4 separate regions of the Homo sapiens genome follow, and all the other regions are linked to region 2. Evidence: promoter capture Hi-C in human tissues and cell types (Jung and others, 2019). All regions are on one chromosome and are shown on one strand. Each heading gives the region's core, a stretch centred on a gene start or on the middle of the fragment in contact. The rest is flanking DNA. Distances are from core to core; before and after follow the strand shown. Region 1 overlaps ZNF407 (zinc finger protein 407). Region 2 holds the start of LINC00908 (long intergenic non-protein coding RNA 908). Region 3 overlaps ZNF407 (zinc finger protein 407). Region 4 overlaps ZNF407 (zinc finger protein 407).

Region 1 (4,810 bases), core at 1,695-4,194, 1.8 Mb before region 2:
TCAGTGTTGCTGACATTTAAAAATTCTTTCTTTTTTTTTTTTTTGTCCTCTGCAATAAGTAGTCAAATTCTTGAGGACTCCTAATATATATCTGGACAACACTGATCAGAAAAAGCTTGGGTTTTACTATTGAGAACATGATTATTCAAATAGCCTTTCTACCACCAAAATTACACATTACAGGTTTAATTTAAAATTAGCTGACATATCATTGCTGCACATTTTTATTTGAAAACATTAAAAGACAACTTACAAAGTTTTAATTTAAAATTGTTTATTAATACAAATAAGATTTTGTTTCTGCTTCAGTTTTATCCCTTTTGACTTTAAAAGCCAAAGGGAAAAATTTCTTCCAATCACTTTCAATCTATAGAAAATGAAAAGAATTTTAATTTTATGGCCATAATCATAAACAGTACATTAGGTTTTGTATAATAACATGTACCATTAAAAGACTTCATTATGGCAGTATCCTATGATCTTCACATCAAAATGAGGAGGAAAGAACATTATTAAGTATGGGAATTTCATGGCAGTTTTACCTGTTGTGGACCCTGTTATGTCAAAAATATAGTGCAGTGACTTCTGAACTAGCTGACAGACACGAAAGCCGTTGTGTCACTGTGTGTTATCACCTCCTGTAACTGAAAGTGCTCCCAGAAGCCAGTTTGTGTTGTGGAGTTCTAGATGAGGTCTTCATGGGTGCTGACCATAAAAAGTTCATCAAAGTAATGAGGCGAAGAGAGCGCTTGGTGCTCATGGGCAGAGCTCAGCACCAAGGAGTGTGAACTGGCTCCAGCTGTGACAATAAAACAGCAGGTGGCTGCTGTCATTAGGGGTGGCAGATGAGGCAGGGGACTAACATTCAGCCCACAAAACTCTCATTTGTTAGCCATTGCCACTGTACCATGCAAAATAGCTTCCATCTCAGTCAATTTTCCTTTGCAGAATATTATACACAGCCATAGGAATATGAGAGCATCGCGTGTACAGGTCTCCTCTCTGCTGTCCTCCCCTCTCCTCTCATCGTGGCTCCTCTGCTCTGCCCTTTCCTTACCTTATATTTTCTTCACATCCCCCAGCCTTCTTGCTGGAAAACACTACTTCATCAACGATGTTGGGTATGGCCTGTATCAATTCCAGTAAGGTATTGGAATTTTAGAAATTAATGGTGCCCATTTTGCCCTCATGCTGCAATTATTACTTAGACTTAGATGTTGTTTTAACTATGTAGATGATCATAAAACCTAACTGAGATACCGTTTTTTAAGAATCCATACTGTCTTTGTTATCTGTTGTGAAGAATTTAAAACTGCAGTGAAAGAAAAAGAGGAATGCAGCAGAGATGTCAGAAAAAAATTCCTGTATTTATTGTTTGAGATGCCTTACCACAAATTTCAGAATTTATTGGCTCCCGAATCATTCTAGTTTGGAAGTAAAGGATAGTTTTTAAAAATAATATATGTGTCTGTGAACATTTTAGTATACTGTTATTTTTGAAAGTACAACAGTAGGTCAAGTCTTAACATCTTATTTGGGGAATAAAACTCCAAATAATAGAAAGCTTTGTATTCCATTTAATACAGGAGGCAAAGGAAATTAAAGAAGTATGATAAGTTATTGGAGATGTATCTTATTGGAAACTATAAAAATTAGAAGAGTGTGAAATTGTCATTCTTTTTTGGAACTTTTCTAAGGCAGAAGAGAGGCCTAAATTCACTGGACAAAGTATGAGGTTGGTGCAAGGGTCACAGTTTTGTCCATGAAAGTCCTTTCCAGCCTCATTTTCACCCAAATCCGTGCTATAGCCTTGGCACATATGTAAGCTTCTCAGACTGGTTTACATTTTCTCACACTTTTCTTCTCTTCCAGGAATATCATCCTTCTCATGGAAATCCTAGTTATCTGTACATTTTACTTCTTCTTTGAGAGTATCCTGAATTCTTTTAGGCATTACTATATCTTACCTACATTATCATCTTGTGGTATTTTTTGCCTACCAACATAAGATGCAAAATTGTTTAACAGTTAATTGCTTTTGTCGCTCATTTTACTGATATGTGAACTTTAAAATAAAACCTAAATGAGTGGTGCAGTATGTTCTTTTTCAGCTGAGGGAAAGTCATTTACTTTTTAACTTGATTCATATGTAAATCATCAGCTTTTCTTTTCTATAGATTTATTCTGGACAGTTCATATGAATGTGATTATACAATATGTGGCCTTTTGTGTCCAAATTTATTCAACTGGCATGTTTTCATGATTCATTCATGTCATAGCATGCATCAGTGCTTCCTTCTTGTGGCCAACTAATACTGCATTGTGTGGACCCAGCACCGTTTGGTATTCACCCGTTCATCATTTCATGGTCATCAGGATGATTTTCACTTTTTAGATATTATGACTAACGGTGCTGTGAACGTTTCTGCACAGATTTTTGAGTGGACATAAATTTTCAGTTTTCTCGGGTATATAGGAGTAGAATTGCTGGATCTTGTGCTAACTATATGTTTAACTTTGTGAGAAGCCATCAAATGTTTCTTGCTAGCAGTGTATGAATTTTTGAATTTCTCTGTATCCTCAACAAGACTTGTTGTTTGTCTTTTTGATTATAGCTCACCTGATGTGTTTGAAGTGATATATCATTGACGTTTTGATTTCAATTTTCCTGAAGAGTAATGCTCTTGAGCAACTTTTTATGTGCTTTATATTGCCTATTTTATATATTTTATGGGGAAATATCTATTCAGATCCCTTGCCCGTTTTTACTTTGTATTGTCTTTTTATTGAGTTTTCTGAAATTTTTATTCTGGATATTGTCTTTTTAATTTATTGATTGTGTCCTTTGAAGCACAAACTTCTTTAATTTTCATGAATTTCAATTTACTCTTTTGTCATTTGTGCTTTGGTGTTATATCTAAAACCATTGCCTAATTTAAGATCCCAAAGATGTATTCCTCTAAGATTTTATAGCTTTTTACCCCTTACATTGGGATTTTTGAATCACTTTGAATTACTTTTTGGATATATCATTAGGAAGGAGTTCATTTTATTCTTTTCTAATGTGGCTACGCACGTCTCAATACCATTTGTTGAAAAGTCTATTCTTTTTTTTAAAATTTATTTATTTTATTATACTTTAAGTTCTAGGGTACATGTGCACAATGTGCAGGTTTGTTACATATGTATACATGTGCCATGTTGGTGTGCTGCACCCATTAACTCGTCATTTACATTAGGTATATCTTCTAATGCTATCCCTCTCCCCTCCCCCCACCACACGACAGGCCCCCATGTGTGATGTTCCCCACCCTGTGTCCAAGTGTTCTCATTGTTCAATTCCCACCTATGAGTGAGAACATGCAGTGTTTGGTTTTCTGTCCTTGCAATAGTTTGCTCAAAATGATGGTTTCCAGCTTCATCCATGTCCCTACAAAGGACATGAACTCATCCTTTTTATGGCCGCGTAGTATTCCATGGTATGTATGTGCCACATTTTCTTAATCCAGTCTATCATTGATGGACATCTGGGTTAGTACCAAGTCTTTGCTATTGTGAATAGTGCCGCAGTAGACATACATGTGCGTGTGTCTTTATAGCAAGCTGATTTATAATCCTTTGGGGATATACCCAGTAATGGGATGGCTGGGTCAAATGGTATTTCTAGTTCTAGATCCCTGAGGAATCACCACACTGACTTCCACAATGGTTGAAGTAGTTTACAGTCCCACCAACAGTGTAAAAGTGTTCCTATTTCTCCATATCCTCTCCAGCACCTGTTGTTGCCTGACTTTTTAAATGATTGCCATTCTGACTGGTGTGAGATGGTATCTCATTGTGGTTTTGATTTGCATTTCTCTGATGGCCAGTGATGATGAGCATTTTTTCATGTGTCTGTTGGCTGCATAAATGTCTTTTTTTGAGACGTTTCTCTTCATATCCTTTGCCCACTTTTTGATGGGGTTGTTTGATTTGTTTCTTGTAAATTTGTTTAAGTTCTTTGTAGATCCTGGATATTAGCCCTTTGTCAGATGGGTAGGTTGCGAAAATTTTCTCCCATTCTGTAGGTTGCCTGTTCACTCTGGTGGTAGTTTCTTTTGCTGTGCAGAAGCTCTTTAGTTTAATTAGATCCCATTTGTCAATTTTGGCTTTTGTTGCCATTGCTTTTGGTGTTTTAGTCATGAAGTCCTTGCCCATGCCTATGTCCTGAATGGTAGTGCCTAGGTTTTCTTCTAGGGTTTTTATGGTTTTAGGTCTAACATTTAAGTCTTTAATCCATCTTGAATTAATTTTTGTATAGGGTGTAAGGAAGGGATCCAGTTTCAGCTTTCTACATATGGCTAGCCAGTTTTCCCAGCACCATTTATTAAATAGGGAATCTTTTCCCCATTTCTCGTTTTTGTCAGGTTTGTCAAAGATCAGATGGTTGTAGACGTGTGGTATTATTTCTGAGGGCTCTGTTCTGTTCCATTGGTTTATATCTCTGTTTTGGTACCAGTACCATGCTGTTTTGGTTACTGTAGCCTTGTAATATAGTTTGAAGCTAGGTAGCGTGATGCCTCCAGCTTTGTTCTTTTGGATTAGGATTGTCTTGGCAATGTGGGCTCTTTTTTGGTTCCATATGAACTTTAAAGTAGTTTTTTCCAATTCTGTGAAGAAAGTCATTGGTGGCTTGATGGGGATGGCATTGAATCTATAAATTACCTTGGGCAGTATGGCCATTTTCATGGTATTGATTCTTCCTATCCATGAGCATGGAATGTCCTTCCATTTGTTTGTGTCCTCTTTTATTTCGTTGAGCAGTGGTTTG
Region 2 (5,155 bases), core at 1,032-3,531:
TCCCCCAAAGATTACCACTATGATGTCTTTTTTATTGATTAATTCAGAGCAAGAGCCAAAGATTAACTATATTTTAGAGACTAAATTACAGATAGTCCCCAACAATTAAAAAGAAAAAGATTATATTCCAACGGTTTGTTTATAAATCAGTTACTTCAGTTACTTGAAGCTCAGAATGCTTTTTCTCATAGAACAAAGCGTCGATTGGGGTAGGGTACCAAGGTAGCACACAGAGGTCAGCCAGTAACCCAATGACACTGGAAATATATTTAAGATTCTCAGCTCCTTAGTCAAGTTCTTTTGAATCCTAAATCCTTACCCTCCCACCCCTAAATCTCTCTGAGCCTTCAATCTATTTTTTTAACTGAAGTAAAACTCACATAGCCTAAAATCAAAAGTGTACAACTCAGTGGCATTTAGTGTAGTCACGGTGTTATGCCACCATCACCTCCAGTTTCAAAACACTGTCCTCATGCAGAAAGGAAAGCCCCCTTGGACCCATTAGCAATCATTCCCCATCCCCGACTCCTTCAGACCCTGGCGACCTCGGATCTGCTTTCTGTCTCTATGGATTTGCCTCTTCTGGACATTTCATACAACTGGGCTCATAACAATCTGTGGTATTTTGTGCCTGACGTCCTCCACTCAGCATAAGGCTTTTAAGGTTCATCCACGTTGTGGCATGTGCCAGTGTTTCACTCCTTCTCATGAGTGAATAATATTCCATCGTGGGGATACAGCACACTTTACTTATCCATTCCCCCTCTTGGAGGGGTGCTTGAGTTGTTTCCATTTTGTGGCTACTGCGAATGCTGCTGCTATTAAACCTGATTTTGACCCTGTGGTGGCATAAGGAGCTCATCAGGGTGAACTGGAAGGGGTGTGCCCCACTGCTGGTGTCTGGTCAAGCAAACCCTCACCCCTTGAGAGAGGAGTCAGTGGGAGACACCACTCAAGTCTCCATAATGAGGGACAATTTCAGGCTGGGACAACATGGTGGAGGAAGGACCTCTTCAGAGAGGAAGTGCACGTAAGGGGCAAGGACCCTAGAAAGACCTGTGGGACCTGTGGAGAGTATGCACGTCCTTCAGATTGAGGCTGGTTTGAGGCCGGGTGCCATGGCTCACGCCTGTAATCCCAGCACTTTGGGAGACCAAGGCAGGCGGATCACCTGAGGTCAGGAGTTCGAGACCAGCCTGGCTGACAAGGTGAAACCCCGTCTCTACTAAAAATACAAAAATTAGCCGGGCGCGGGGGCACACACCAAAAAAAAAAAAAAACAAACCTGGGCTGAGTGCAGAAATCAGTCCAATCCAGGGAGAAATCTGGCAAATACTCTTGGCCAGCTCCTGTTTTTCTGAAAACATAGGTGCCAGAAGAGCATCCGGTAGCAGCTGCCAAGTTCAATACTAGGACTCCACTCCACAGACAATTCTGTCACCCCATTGTGGGTGTCCTGGATGCCCAGAAAACCCACATCTCTTGATAAAGTCCTCCTGTGGTAAGTCTGCAACCCCTCTGCACCCAGCCCCTCTGCTGACACCCCCTCTGCACCCTGCATCTTTGCCAAGTGGGGAGAGATGCATTCCAGAACTCCAGTGGCAGGATCTGCCCTTGCCGGGATCATGCAGACTTGGCATTTTCCAGTACCTACTGTTGCTTGAGGTTTCTTATAATAGAGCAGGATGAGCAACACGACTTCTCGTTTTGTAATTTGGCACATATGTATATGTTTTATACATACATGCTATGTGTCTATATGTACACACGGCAATACATACGTGTATATGTATACGTATATATGTATGTCAACGAATACCTAAATATATAATCATATGAAACAAACTGTTTATCCCTGTTCCATAAACTTCATATCAATTCAATAAATAAAATTTATTCAAAATCCAATCATCCCAACACATTAACATTTAATTTTTCCCTATTTTCTGTCTGTGTTTGTCATTGAATATTAAAAGTTTTGCTTTTTTTTACTATTTCACCTCTTTTCTAGGTAGTCCATAATTTTAAAACAATATATATGGCACCACTTGGTCTTCACAGCTTTCAAGACAGGACTGTCAAGGCAAGGACACTCCTTAGGGGACCCTGTCCCATAAAGTCAAATTATGCGGGATGAGTCAGTGACGCAGGAGCTAAAAACAGTGTCCCTTTAAAAATGTGCATGCCTTTGAAATGGAATAAGTAAAGTACTTGCAGATGCAAATGGTTTCAAGTTTCACTGGAGACCCAGCGAAAGCGGCTGTTCTCAAAGTTGCCAGGCAGTGTGGAAACGCCCACTGAGGGGCACACAGTGAGGCGGCCACTGGCTCTGTGTCCTTGGGGAAGCCCCTTCTGCGGTCCCCTCCATTGTCTGCGTGACAAAGTGGACGTAGAACTCCCCCATTTCCTGCCCAGGGCGGGTGAGGACCCTGCACACACACGGTGTGTTTGTGAGCTGTGCAGAGTGGGGTCTCCCTGGCAATGGCCACAGCCTCCAGGGGCGCTGACACCTCCCGTCTAACTGGTAGACAGTTTCTGCCTCTTCTTGTTTGGGGATTGGAGAGGGAAGTGCGTCTGGATGACTACTAAGGTAAATATGGAATGGGCACCGCGTCTTCCCTTTCTTCTCTCCCTTCCCACGCACCTGCCTGGCTCCCCGGCTCTCCCGCCCTGGCCAGAGTCAATGTGAGCTGCAAAGTCCATATGTGAACAGCTGTGGGCAAGTCGTGCAACAGTGCTCATGGGACTTACTACGCATCTAAGCCGCTGAACTTCAGCTGGACCCCAAATGGCCTTGGTCACGTTTTGTTTCTGTTTTGTCATTTCCGGCTGCATCTCCCACAGTCTCAGCCCTGCGCTCCTTGCTCTGCCTTCTCCTCCCCACAGCTTCTTTGCAGATAACATCCTGGCCGTATTATGCAACTGAACCCATATTATCCGGGGGAAACTTACCCTCCTCTGCTCTCTAAATCTTCCTTTTCCTTCTGGTTTTGGAGAAAGAGGAGCTCCTTTCCATCAATCAGGTCAACCTCTTCCTGTTTCCTTTCTTCATTCTTCGTTATTTTCCACTCCTGAGTTTTGGACTCTTCTCTCGGTCAATAAGTATATCCGAATTCTTCCAGCTGTAAAACCAACAAATGAAAGGCCTCGTGTACCAAGGCTGCCCCCGCGTGCGGCCCCCCGGGCTGTGTGGCCTTGGCCTGGAACACAGCCCCGCTGCCACCTTCCTGCACTCCGTGGGGGAGATGGGCGGTGCACACTACCCAGAAGTGGAATGTGCATTTCACAGAAAATGACCAATTTAAGCAGAAAATTAAAGCAGAAAACGGGGTGAGAACGGCAGACGCGTGTGTGGGCACCGCAGCGTACACGCTTAGGATCCCGAGTTTATTTTTCTAGGGCCCGTGTGTTGGTGCGCATGCGCGTGCGCCCCCACCACCTGAAATCTTGGTAGTGCCTGTTAACCCGGCAGTAGACCCATGGGTGAATTTACTCTCTTCTCTGTGTCTTTCTGTATTTTCCATGCTTTCTGTGACGAACAACATCATACATACCGCTACTTCTTTTTTTGGGGGGACGGAGTCTCGCTCTGTCGCCCAGGCTGGAGTGCAGTGGCGCGATCTCGGCTCACTGCAAGCTCCGCCTCCCGGGTTCACGCCATTCTCCTGCCTCAACCTCCCAAGTAGCTGGGACTACAGGCGTCCGCCACTACGCCTGGGTAATTTTTTGTATTTTTAGTAGAGACGGGGTTTCACCGCGTTACCCAGGATAGTCTCGATCTCCTGACCTCGTGATCCGCCCACCTCGGCCTCCCAAAGTGTTGGGATTACAGGCGTGAGCCACCGCGCCCGGCCACATATCACTTCTTCTATTGTGCATTCACTGCACACCAAGCACTTCTATTGGGCGTTCACTACACACCAAGCCTAAGTAAGGGCTTTCTGTGCACGCTCTCATTTCATGCTTATGACACTCTGAGAATTAAGACCATTTTGGCCCCTGTCTTACAGATGAGGAGGCTGAGGCCTAGTGCTCCTAGCGGGCTTGGTCAAGAGCAGGAGGCGGAGGTGGTGGAAGGCTGTTTCCCTGCGGTGAGTGCTCACACGGTTGGCGGTGATTTCTCCGCAGGGTCTCACAGGCCGGTGCTCTCAGGAGCCACACCTGAAGAATGGCAGGACCCAGGGTGGGCAGAAGAGGAAGGTGAACTGAGGAACAGTTGCAACAGAGGCCTCGGCCAACCCCATGGAGGGCTCTGAATTTGAGAGCCCTGAGAGTCACTCCCCCTGAGGCAGGAGGCCAGGCGTTGCACCCATGCGCTGGCCACTCGCTGGGGACAGGCTGTGTCCAGGGAGGGTACCTGTGTTTGGGTGAGGTGCCCTTCAAGAAGGGCAGTTCCTGGAGAGTCCCCAGATAGAGGTTGTCAATAGTTGACACTTTCTGCAGCTGGCGGGACAGCGCTTGGTTGAGGGGGACTCTGGGTGGCCCACTACAGTGTCTACCACAAATGCCTACCTGCTCTCCAGGATACATTCAAATCTCGCCACCCCCAGGAGGCCTTCTTAGATTCCCATGGATCAGAATGGGCCTGGGATGCTCTCTTCCCATGTCCCTCAGGCTTGCTTGAGCTGTCTCAGGCATGACAGCTGTTGTGGGTTTGAAAGGCTCTGCCACTAGACTGTGATTCCCTGGGGAAGCAATAATCCCCTTTGGGGACATCACTGACTTCAAAACGGTTAAGGGTAAAAGGCAAAAGACCTGCCCGTTTGGGGACATCACTGACTTCAAAACAGTTAAGGGTAGGCCAGGCGCGGTGGCTCAAGCCTGTAATCCCAGCACTTTGGGAAGCCGAGGCGGGCGGATCACGAGGTCAGGAGATCGAGACTATCCTGGCTAACATGGTGAAACCCCGTCTCTACTAAAAATACAAAAAATTAGCCGGGCGTGGTGGCGGGCGCCTGTAGTCCCAGCTACTCGGGAGGCTGAGGCAGGAGAATGGCATGAACCTGGGAAGCGGAGCTTGCAGTGAGCCGAGATTGCGCCACTGCACTCCAGCCTGGGCGACAGAGCGAGACTCCATCTCAAAAAAAAAAAGGGGGGGTAATAGGCAAAAGACCTGCTTCTGTGGCCAGGCAGCGTGCCTTGGGTGTCACTTGTA
Region 3 (4,797 bases), core at 2,076-4,575, 1.9 Mb before region 2:
TTTTGGAGAGGAAAGAGGCCATGGTTTCACGCCAAAGCGCCCTAACCCTTCAGATTGTCAGGGATCACTAGCGGCGGGCCTGGGCCTGGGCTTGATGTGGACATGAAGAGCTTTTCCAGAAAATAAATGAGAGCAGTTTAAGGAAACAGGTGAAAAACTTCTGGGAGATCATTTTTGTATTTAATAGCTACATGGTGATCTTAAAAATAAAATTTGGAAATCTGCTATGTGAAAAAAATGCAGCAATTGATTTGTAATGAGTTTCAGGTTGAAGCTCATCATGTGTGTAATGCTGAATTCTATCTGGAAAGGTGCTTTTTAGAACTATTATGAAGAAAATCTGGAAAGAACCAGTTTCTTATGACATAATGGAGATACCTACATTTATATATTTTTCAAAAAATATATTTTAAATATATTTTGAGTAGATACGGGGTCTTGCCCAGGCTGATCTCGAGCTCCTGGACTCAAGCAATGTCTCCTGCCTCAGCCTCCCAAAGTGCTGGGATTATAGGTGTGAGCCACTGCACCCAGCCTAGATCTAAACATGTAAAAATTCTTTGATTTTCATACTTGTTTTATTTCTTGTGATGTCATCACACATATTCTTTATGTGACGACACAGAGCACAGTCCTGAACTGTGGTGGAGTTTATTATGTCGGCACACCTGAGGAGACATTTGAGTGTCAGTTTTCTTGGAATTTTTGGAATTATTTCAAAGTAGACTTGATATAGAATTAAATAGGAGAAATGGTTAAATTAGAGTTTAGATGGCGTTAGCTAAAGCAAAGTAAATGCAATTTTATTTAAAATAGAAGAAATAATTTTAGATATATCCGGTGTAATTCAGAGACTAGTTGATGAGGAAATTTTACTTATTTCACTTTGATGAAAGAGAGAAACATCTGGTGAAATACTAGGGGTGGTCTTTTCACTTTCAGGCCTTAGAGGAATGACTGCTACCGTAGGGTTATCACCTTTTAGAGGGAATGAGGATTGTGGCAACCCTATTCCGACTCCTCATCGTCTACTAGGAAAGCTGTGCCCTACAGGAGGCAGGTGTTTCGTCAGTCTCAGAGATTAGTTGTAGAACAAGGATTAGAAGCAGGCCTCTTGATTCATGGCTGGTCTTTTTGCTCCTCCATTGGTGGTTCTCAATCCTAATGTGTATCGGAGTCACCCAGAGGGTTTGGGCATCAACCAGAAACTGGCTCAGCAGGCCAGGGCTGGGGCTCAAGAATCTGCATTTCTCACAGGTTCCCGGGGTGACTTTGCAGCTGCCAGTCCTGAGACCACACTTCTGTAGCCTCAGCATCACCTGATGTGGCGTTGATCTCTCAGGCCGCTTGTAAGAGGAGATTAAGTAAACCTTCCCAGGTTTATACCAGACTAACCTTTTCCCTAGTACTCGGATAATCTAGTTCTTTAATTTTATGTTAGAAAAAAGAAATGCACATAGTGATTAGATGGGGGAAAAAAAAAAAGAAATGGAGTATTTCTCACAGAGTCACTGTGGCATTTTCAGTCGTAAATTTGGAGCTAATTCTGTTTGTCACGACCACTGGCCATTGACGGGGCTGGGTTTGTGCTGTGAGGCCCAGTCTTAGCAACGTTTTCTGTGAAAGGGTGTCCAGATTGATTGCTAGAGTGTATAGGAGTGAAAAATTAGTTCTGGTTTTGTGACTCTGTACTTTTCTTTGTTATTTTGTGTACTTAAATAATCCCTTCTTATATATAAAAATCTCATCAGGCCCTAGCACACTTACATGCACATAGTAGATGACAAATAAATGAGTTGAAATGGATTAAAAGAGTAAGGGGGAAATAACATAGGTCATTTATCTGGAAAGACTTCAGTGCCCTGGAGAGTTACTCTGTTCTCTAGAGTATCCCAATCACAGGCTCTTCCTGAACAATTGTAATTTATTTATTCCAGCTTAATCCTTATTTGTAGTTATTGAACATTTTTAGCACAGAAGTTAGAGATAGCATATTTTTATGTTAGAGTCAATAATCCCTCCCTTTTGTCTTTTTATCTTTCATCTGAAATGACTTTTTAAAACTTTCTACTTTGAAATAATTTTAGAAAAAAGAATTGCAAAAATAGTCTAGAAAGTTCCTATGTATATACCTTTTGGCCAGCATCTCCTGTTGTTCTCATGTATCCATAATACAATCATTGAAACCAGGCAATTGGTAACAATTAATCTAAAACATTTATTTGAATTTAACCAATGGTTCCATTGATATCCTTTTTTTCTGGTCCAGGATCCAACCCAGTATCCCACATTGTATTTTGTTATGTCTCCTTGGTCTCTCCAGTCTGTGATAGTGTTCTTTTAGATTTCTTTTTTTTTTGGAAACAGAGTCTTGCTCTGTCACTCAGGCTGGAGTGCAGTGGCTCATCTCGGCTCACTGCAGTTTCCGCCTCCTGGTTCAAGCGATTCTTCTGCCTCGGCCTCCTGAGTTGCTGGGATTACAGGAGTGCACCACCACATCCGGCTAATTTTTGTGTTTTTGGTAGATACGTGGTTTCTCCATGTTGGCCAGGCGGGTCTTGAACTCCTAACCTCAAGTGATCCGCCTGCCTTGGCCTCTCAAAGTGCTGGGATTACAGGTGTAAGCCACCGCGCCTGGCCAGTTCCTTTAGATTGCTTTGTCTTTCATGACTTTGATACTTTTGAAGAATACTGGCCAGTTATTTTGTAGAATGTCCCTCAGTTTGGATTTGTCTGATGCTCTTTCTTGTTAAATTGAGGTTTAGGCATTTTTGGTGGGAATACTAGCACAGGGGTGAAATCATGTCCTTCTCAGTGCATCATATGAGGAGGTATGTGATATAGATATGTCTTCTTCTGGTGAACGTGAACTTTGATCTCTTGGTTGAGGTGATGACGTGTCAGGTTTTTGTACTGTGAGGTTAAACATTTTTTTCTTTGTGATTAATGACTCATTTTTTTTTTGATTTTGGTGCAGAAAGTTTGAAACAAATGAACATAATATCAGAATCTTTTGAGTTTGACTTTAACTGTGGGGTATTTCATATCTTGAGAAGGTTTGTTATTATTTATTAGAACCAAACATAGCAGGGGAGAGGTAAAGGCTTAAGCTGTTGGAAGTACATGCATTTGCTGATCTCCGTCAATCAATCAGTATTGAATTGGCAGCCGAGGAAGCTGTCCAGTTCTTTTGCTGTGGTTCTGCACTCTGTCTCACATTTGTCTTCCAGTGAATGACTTTCCCTACCTGTGCAGGGGGGATACATTCTTGAGAAATGCCTCTAGGTGATTTCATTGTTGTGTGAACATCACAGAGTATACAAACCTAGATGGTGCAGCCTGCTACACACCTGGGCTATATGGTGTGGTCTACCGCTCCTAGGCAACAAACCCATATAGCATGTTACTGTACTGAATGCTGTAGGCAATTGTAACTCAATGGTAAGTATTTTGTGTATCTAAATCTATCCAAACATAGAAAAGGTGCAGTAAAAATATGGTATAAAAGATAAAAAAAAGGTATACTTGTTTAGAGCACTTACCATGATGGAGCTTGTGGGACTGGAAGTTGCTCTGGGTGAGTCAGTGAGTGAGTGGTGAGAGAATGCGAAGGCCTAGGAGATTACACTTTTGTATAACTGGCAGTGTAGTAGGTTTGCTTACACCAGCATCACCACAAACGTGAGAAATGTGTTGTACTAAGACATTACAACAGCTAAATGATGTCACTAGGCAATAGGAATGTTTCAGCTCCGTTGTAATGATAGGGAACCATCATCATGTATGTGGTCCATTGTTGACCAAAACATCATTAGGTAGTGCATGACTGTGTTTCAGTTCATCAGAGGGTAGTCACCCTAAGTATCCTGTGGCTTATCCATTTGGTGGTTCCTAGAGCTGGGTAGGTATGTTTTATTTGTAGATCATGTGGATGACATTGCTGTATATATTATATATGCTTTATATAATATAAATTGTCTCTATTCTCAAAACACATATGCCTTTATTGTCCCAACCGGAGCACATTGGAAGAAACATATTGGATATATCCTTCACAGGCTTGTAAGCTTCTTGGAGGCAGGGAACAAGTCTCTTTTTGTTTTCCAGTGACTTGCTTGGGACCTGCAATACACAAGCCACTCATAAATATTTGATGAATAAATGAATACTATACGTGCATTTTGTTAGCTGCTTTTGCAAGTTACCAGAATTTTGTGAAATCTTTTCACATGATTGTGGAGCTGTGTAATCTAACAGTATTCAAGTAGATGGATTGCCACATTAGCTTTACTTTTAACCATCCCCCATTGTTGGATAGTAGGTTGTTTCCAGTTTTTCTCTACAGTTCATGGTGAACATCCTGAAACCCACATTTCCCCTCTCCCTCTCGGTCTCTCTTGTGCGTGCATGCGTGCAAGCAGCTTACCCTCCAGATAGGTAATTACCCATTTAGGTAATTACCATTTGAGGACGTTCGTTTTCCTGTACTTTCCCAATGCTTAACTCTTTAGTTTTTTAGAATAGGACTTAAATATTTTGGGACTTTTTTTTGTTTTATTTTGTTGAGAAGTCTCGTTCTTGTCCCCCAGGCTTGAGTGCAATGGCTCATCTCGGCTCACTGCAACCTCCGCCTCCCTGGCCCAAACAATTCTGCTGCCTCTGCCTCCCAAGCAGCTGGGATTAAGGTGCCCACTACCACACCGGGCTAATTTCTGCTTTTTTTTTAAGTAGAGATGGGGGTTTCACCATGTTGGCCAGGCTGGTCTCGAACCCCTCACCTCAGGTGATCCGCCCACC
Region 4 (5,185 bases), core at 917-3,416, 1.5 Mb before region 2:
TTCCTCAGCATGCTAGTGACAGAGAGAGGCCACACTGGCTGTGGAGCCTAAGAGGAGAAAGGAGTCCCACACCCGTCATGGCTCCTGGTGGCATTGCTGTTAGCCTGGCACCGAGCAGCTCAGCCTGTAGCTACTGGAGAGTTAGCAAAGATGAAGGGGAAAGAACTGGCAGGTCTATCTCATTTGATCTTCTTGTATAGATGTTTTTAATAATTATACATCAGTCTGTTGTAATAGTATTTGGCAGGTCATAGACAATTTCTGTCATATTACTTGATAACAGCCCTCTGAGGAGGGAAAACCATCTCTCTTCTTTTATAGAAAATCAAATTGACTTTAGAAAGGCTAGGGATTTGTCCACATTTCTATAACCAGTAGTTAACAGAACTAGCTCTCGGACTAGGGTTCTTCTCTGTGTACCTCGTTGTCCAGGTCGTTAGCCACTCCCAGCGAGCCTCGCCTAAGCCTGCGCTGCCCCTCACATACCTCAGGTGAGTGCTGCAAATGTTCCTGCCGCTGCTCACTGCAACTGAAGTTACCAGAGGAAAAAAAAAGTCATCACATCTTTTTTAAAAGTACCTGGGCCATCCAAATCATTCCTGCCAAAAACTATTCTAAAATTTAATAAGATCAGCAAGTTAAAAGTTTAATTTTTATTATGTTTACAATATATGACATATTGGTTTTATGTCCAATTTTTAATTCCATATCAAATTGTATGTAGTTTATGTTTAGAGTTCATTTAGGTTCAGCATGTAAGTTGTTATGACCTTTTATAGGTCTTAAAACATGATTTCAGTTCATTCTTAACTTTGTGTTACCTGCTCAACATCCAATAAATGGATGTTAATAACCAACTATGTGCCATAGTGCCCAAAACCTAAAAACTAAATGATGGTTAAGAAAATCCCGTATTGTTTCTGAGATTTATTTAATGCTATGTTTGGGCAGAAATGCCACCATTAATTATAAAATGGAAATTTGTTGAAGCAAAGACGATCCACTCTGCCAAAAAGTTTCCAGGGATCAAAGATGGTGAAGAGCTGGCCCTGCATTTGTGATTAACAAAGTATCACATAACTGGACTTCTCTAGTCCACTCAGGATCATTGGCTCTGATTCTGAATGTGCGTAGAGTCAAATTGTTTACCTTTTGAAGATCTGTTCATTTATTTTTAACTCTTGAGTCCAAATTTGAAAAATATATTACAGTATTTTTAGAATTTTGTAGTGTGCTAGCTCTCAGCAATATAAATTACCTTTTCTAATAATATATGCAGTGATACATTAGTGACCCCAAAGACCGAATGCATTGTCGATATTTGAGCACAGTTCTGATTAGTGCATCCTATATTCATAAAAGAATAGTCTTTTCTTTATACATTTTGTTGGTATTATTTTTACCTCTTTATTTGAATCACCCTGTTAAACAGTTTCAGCTTTAACTTTGTTCACTACTCTGGTAATTTTTACCTCCTTAAAATACCCTTTATACATTAATATGTTCCTGTGTAGGAAGAAAAATAAAACATGAAAAGGTGAATAAATATTGCTGATCATTCAATACAGAGAATTAGTTATTTTAGAGTTACAGTGTTTCCTATATCATATTAATTCAACTTCTTTTTGTTGATGTCGTTGACATGAGGAAAGTCTGGAGTCTACTAAGTGTTTATTAATAGGAACTATGAGAACAAACTTTAGACTAATCTTTGAGTTCCTGGCTAATTATTACAACCACCTAAATTAGTGTTATCCTTAGGGAAAGCAAACAAAAATAAGGAGGAAAGCCAGTCTTCCAACTAATAACCGATGTTAAAATTCGGAATTAAGAGAAAAAGAAATGTGTGGCTCTAAATCATTCCATTCTGGAGGCCTTTAGAGAGGATCGAGCAGAAGGGACCTTCTGGCGCTGTTCTGAGCTGCCACTCACTGCTGGGACAGGAGCCACACGTGGGGCCCAACTCTGCCTGTTGCTTTGGGCCATTGAACAGCCAGGGTAGTACAAAAAACTGTCATTGCTTGACAGTGAAACAGGAAGGAAGCAAATGGACCCCGTGGCCTTCCTAACCTTAGACCACACTTTTTCCAGGCAGAGCGTATGGAATTGTGACTGCCAACATCAGAGTTCTAGTCTAGCCCTGCCACCAGACTATGGACTGATATGTTTCCCTGATTGAACTTCAGTTATAATCTTTGTAAAATGAAAATAATTTCTTGTTGACTGGCTCATAGAATACTTATGAGGATGGAATATGAAAGCAGTGTGTGTACTGCAGCATCCTGTGTGAACATACAGCATTTTTGCCATCTCCATGTCACTGTGTGTCCTCAGCATTGGCACTCATTGTATGCAGACACATCCACTGCCCCTCACAGCACACAGCAGTTTCACCATAAGACAGACTTCGGCATACAAACTAATAAATACAAATGCAGTCTAGTGTTGATTTTTCTGCTGACGTTTGACAACTTACTGTGAAATAGGAATAAATGTGAGCTCTCGGTGGGAATAGTTAACATACTTTAGGATGCTAGATGCACTGCCAGAAAACTTTAACTACGTCATGTACTCTGTTACCAAAGGAAGTATTTTGACATATTATAGTGAAATGGCACTACTGTTAAATTAAGAATTGTCACCAAAATAAAATTTAAATACTCCAAAGAAGCCATTTAGCTAATACTGTTTCTCGGACCACATGAGTTTACAAATTACTAGTGTATTATATGAAAATTCAAGAAAGTCTAACCATTTCAGCCATTGAATAGTAGCCCCCATCCATGAATGTCATCCATTTTATACTTGGCATTCTCTCTCTCAGTTTCACTTTAAGCTTTTATTTAACAACTACAGTGTGGTTTCGAAAACATCTCCAATTTTTTCCCTCTCAGAGGAAACATGCAATCATATTATGTTACAATAAATGTAGATAGCTGGAAGTAAATTCAGATTGTCCTTAGTTCTTAAAAATATGGATTGAAAAACACACACAAACGCACACACACTTTTCGATGAGTATGTGAATGAAGAATATGCCGTATCCTGTATATTCCAGACAAAAATCCTGTTTATTCTTCTATTTTTTCTCTTAGTTATATTATTTCTAAGAAAAAGGGGGAGATTTTTTAAAATGTATTATGTTTATCTTTCTTATACATTCTTTAACATGTTAATGTATGTTCATATAGGATATTGTGTCTAGTATTTGTTTAAAATATTAGGACTAGTATCCTTCATGTAAAGGTATTTTTGAGCTTTTTAAAAATATTTTTTATTCTCGATGGGCAACCCCAACACCAGACATTTTGACTAAACATCATATAAGTGTTTCAGGAACAGACAAAATACATTAGCTGATACACATCGCGTGTGTTAGAAATGGCATACTCCGAAGTGCATTGAGCACTGGAAAGTTCATGCTGCTTAGAGGCGTGTCGTTGTGTCAGTACCGGGGAATTTTTTTCAAGCTTTTAATCCATACATAGATAAGTCCAAAGTTGTTAAGATCACATTGATTTTATAGCTCCTTTGATAGACGATAACATCATCAGTGTCTGTGAAATTTATTACAGCAATATGTAGAGAATGGTGCAATTATTATTATAGGTCTTACTGTATTACCAAACCCAGTAAGATTGTACGCGAGGAACGGTGAGCTCACGTGTGGTGTCCGTGTTCATCTCCTCCAACAAGAATGTGTGTTGAGAAAAGAGCCACCTTAGCAGGAAGCATCACAGGCTTCTCTATTGATCGGGCTCTGTTTAAGCAATAAGAGAATGTCTCCTTTCAGTGACAAATAAAATTCTTGAAGAGAGGAGAATATGATGTGAACTCTGAGGGGTTAGTGAAGCTGCCTGTCTTGTGTGCCTGTGGCCTAATTAAAAGTTAGAAAAATACAGCCAAGGAAATTAAATTTTAAAGCAAAACTAGAAAAAAAAAACTGGATTAGAATAATGTTCAAATACTTAGGGATACATTTTTTAAAATATATTCAAGACCTGTACAATAAAAACTACAAAACACCGCTTAGAGGAGTTAAAGAAGACCAAGATAGTAGAGATTCCACATTTATAGATGGGAGGACTCAGTGTTGTTAAATGTCAGGTATCCCCACATTGATCTATAGATTCAACACAATCCCAGCCAAATCCTAGGAGGCTTTTGGTAGAAATTGATGAGCTGCTTCTAAAATGTGTGTGGGAATGCAAAGAACCTGTAATAATCAAAACAGTTTTGGAAAAGAAAACAAACTTGGAAGACATGCATACTGGATTCCAATACCTACTCTAAAGATACAATAATGAAGACATATGGATGCAAGAAACATAGTCGGAAGGCCACAAATAGACCCACACAAGCGTGTGGTCAGTTGATTTTCAACAAGATGCCAAGGAGGAAGGAATGATCTTTTTAATTAACGGTTCTGAAATATTATATATCCATATAAAAAAATGAACCTTAACCCTTACACCATTCAAAAAATTGCCTCAAAATGGATCAAAAGCCTAAATATGAAAGTTAAACTTCTAAACCTTTTGGAACAAAACATAGGAGAAAATTTTTCTGACTTTGAGATATTCAGAGATTTCTTGGATAGGATGTAAAAAGCACAAATGGTGAAAGAAAAAGAACTGATAAATTGAACCATCAAAGTTGAAAGCTTTTGCTCTTCAAAAGATACTGTTAAGAAAATAAAGAGAAAAGATATATATATATAGATAGATATAAAATAGTTTTTATATATTTTTATATATATCTGGCCTAGTTCTTGATTCTAGAGTACTTAAAGAACAAATCACCACTCAAAAATAAGACAAAAACCCAACTAAGAAAAATAGCATTGTTCAATTCTGTAACCCTAAAACTTGAAGTATAATAATAATAAAAAAAATAAATAAACAAACAAAAAAAATAGCAGAAGACAATGTGCAAGTGGCCAGTAAGTAGATGAGATGGTGTTCAATGTCACCACCCTTCAGGACAATACAATTAAAGCCACGAGGAGATGCCACTACATACCCATCAAAATAGCTAACAATCAAAAGACAACCTATACCAAATGTTAGTGAGGATGTAGTCATCTAGAATTTTCAGACATCGCTGGGGAGAGTGTGAAATGGTACAGCCACTTTACAAAACAGTTTGATAAGTTCTTATAAAATTAAACATACACCTATCCACT

The links. The method cuts DNA at HindIII sites, captures the fragments that hold promoters and counts their contacts. A contact is called where the count stands out against the background at its distance.
Region 1: a fragment that was not itself captured here is called in contact with the fragment with the promoter of LINC00908 in region 2 in 1 of the 25 tissues and cell types used here (dorsolateral prefrontal cortex).
Region 3: a fragment that was not itself captured here is called in contact with the fragment with the promoter of LINC00908 in region 2 in 1 of the 25 tissues and cell types used here (dorsolateral prefrontal cortex).
Region 4: a fragment that was not itself captured here is called in contact with the fragment with the promoter of LINC00908 in region 2 in 1 of the 25 tissues and cell types used here (dorsolateral prefrontal cortex).

The regions. Positions count from the first base shown.
Region 1 is chr18:74,748,255-74,753,064 of GRCh38, forward strand. The region is part of intron 3 of ZNF407 (zinc finger protein 407); the gene reads left to right. Among named protein-coding and RNA genes, the nearest start is that of ZNF407, 150 kb to the left of the region's middle. The HindIII fragment of the contact is 7,081 bases long and covers 1-4,810 here.
Region 2 is chr18:76,526,374-76,531,528 of GRCh38, forward strand. LINC00908 (long intergenic non-protein coding RNA 908) reads left to right here and starts at 2,282. Exons shown (of 3, transcript NR_015417.1): 1 at 2,282-2,590; 2 at 4,011-4,091. RefSeq lists enhancers at 2,024-2,664, 2,665-3,303, 2,801-2,880, 3,304-3,943. The HindIII fragment of the contact is 15,253 bases long and covers 1-5,155 here.
Region 3 is chr18:74,606,007-74,610,803 of GRCh38, forward strand. All of the region lies in intron 1 of ZNF407 (zinc finger protein 407), which reads left to right. Among named protein-coding and RNA genes, the nearest start is that of ZNF407, 11 kb to the left of the region's middle. The HindIII fragment of the contact is 4,267 bases long and covers 1,193-4,797 here.
Region 4 is chr18:74,983,763-74,988,947 of GRCh38, forward strand. The region is part of intron 8 of ZNF407 (zinc finger protein 407); the gene reads left to right. Among named protein-coding and RNA genes, the nearest start is that of PTGR3, 220 kb to the right of the region's middle. The HindIII fragment of the contact is 3,800 bases long and covers 267-4,066 here.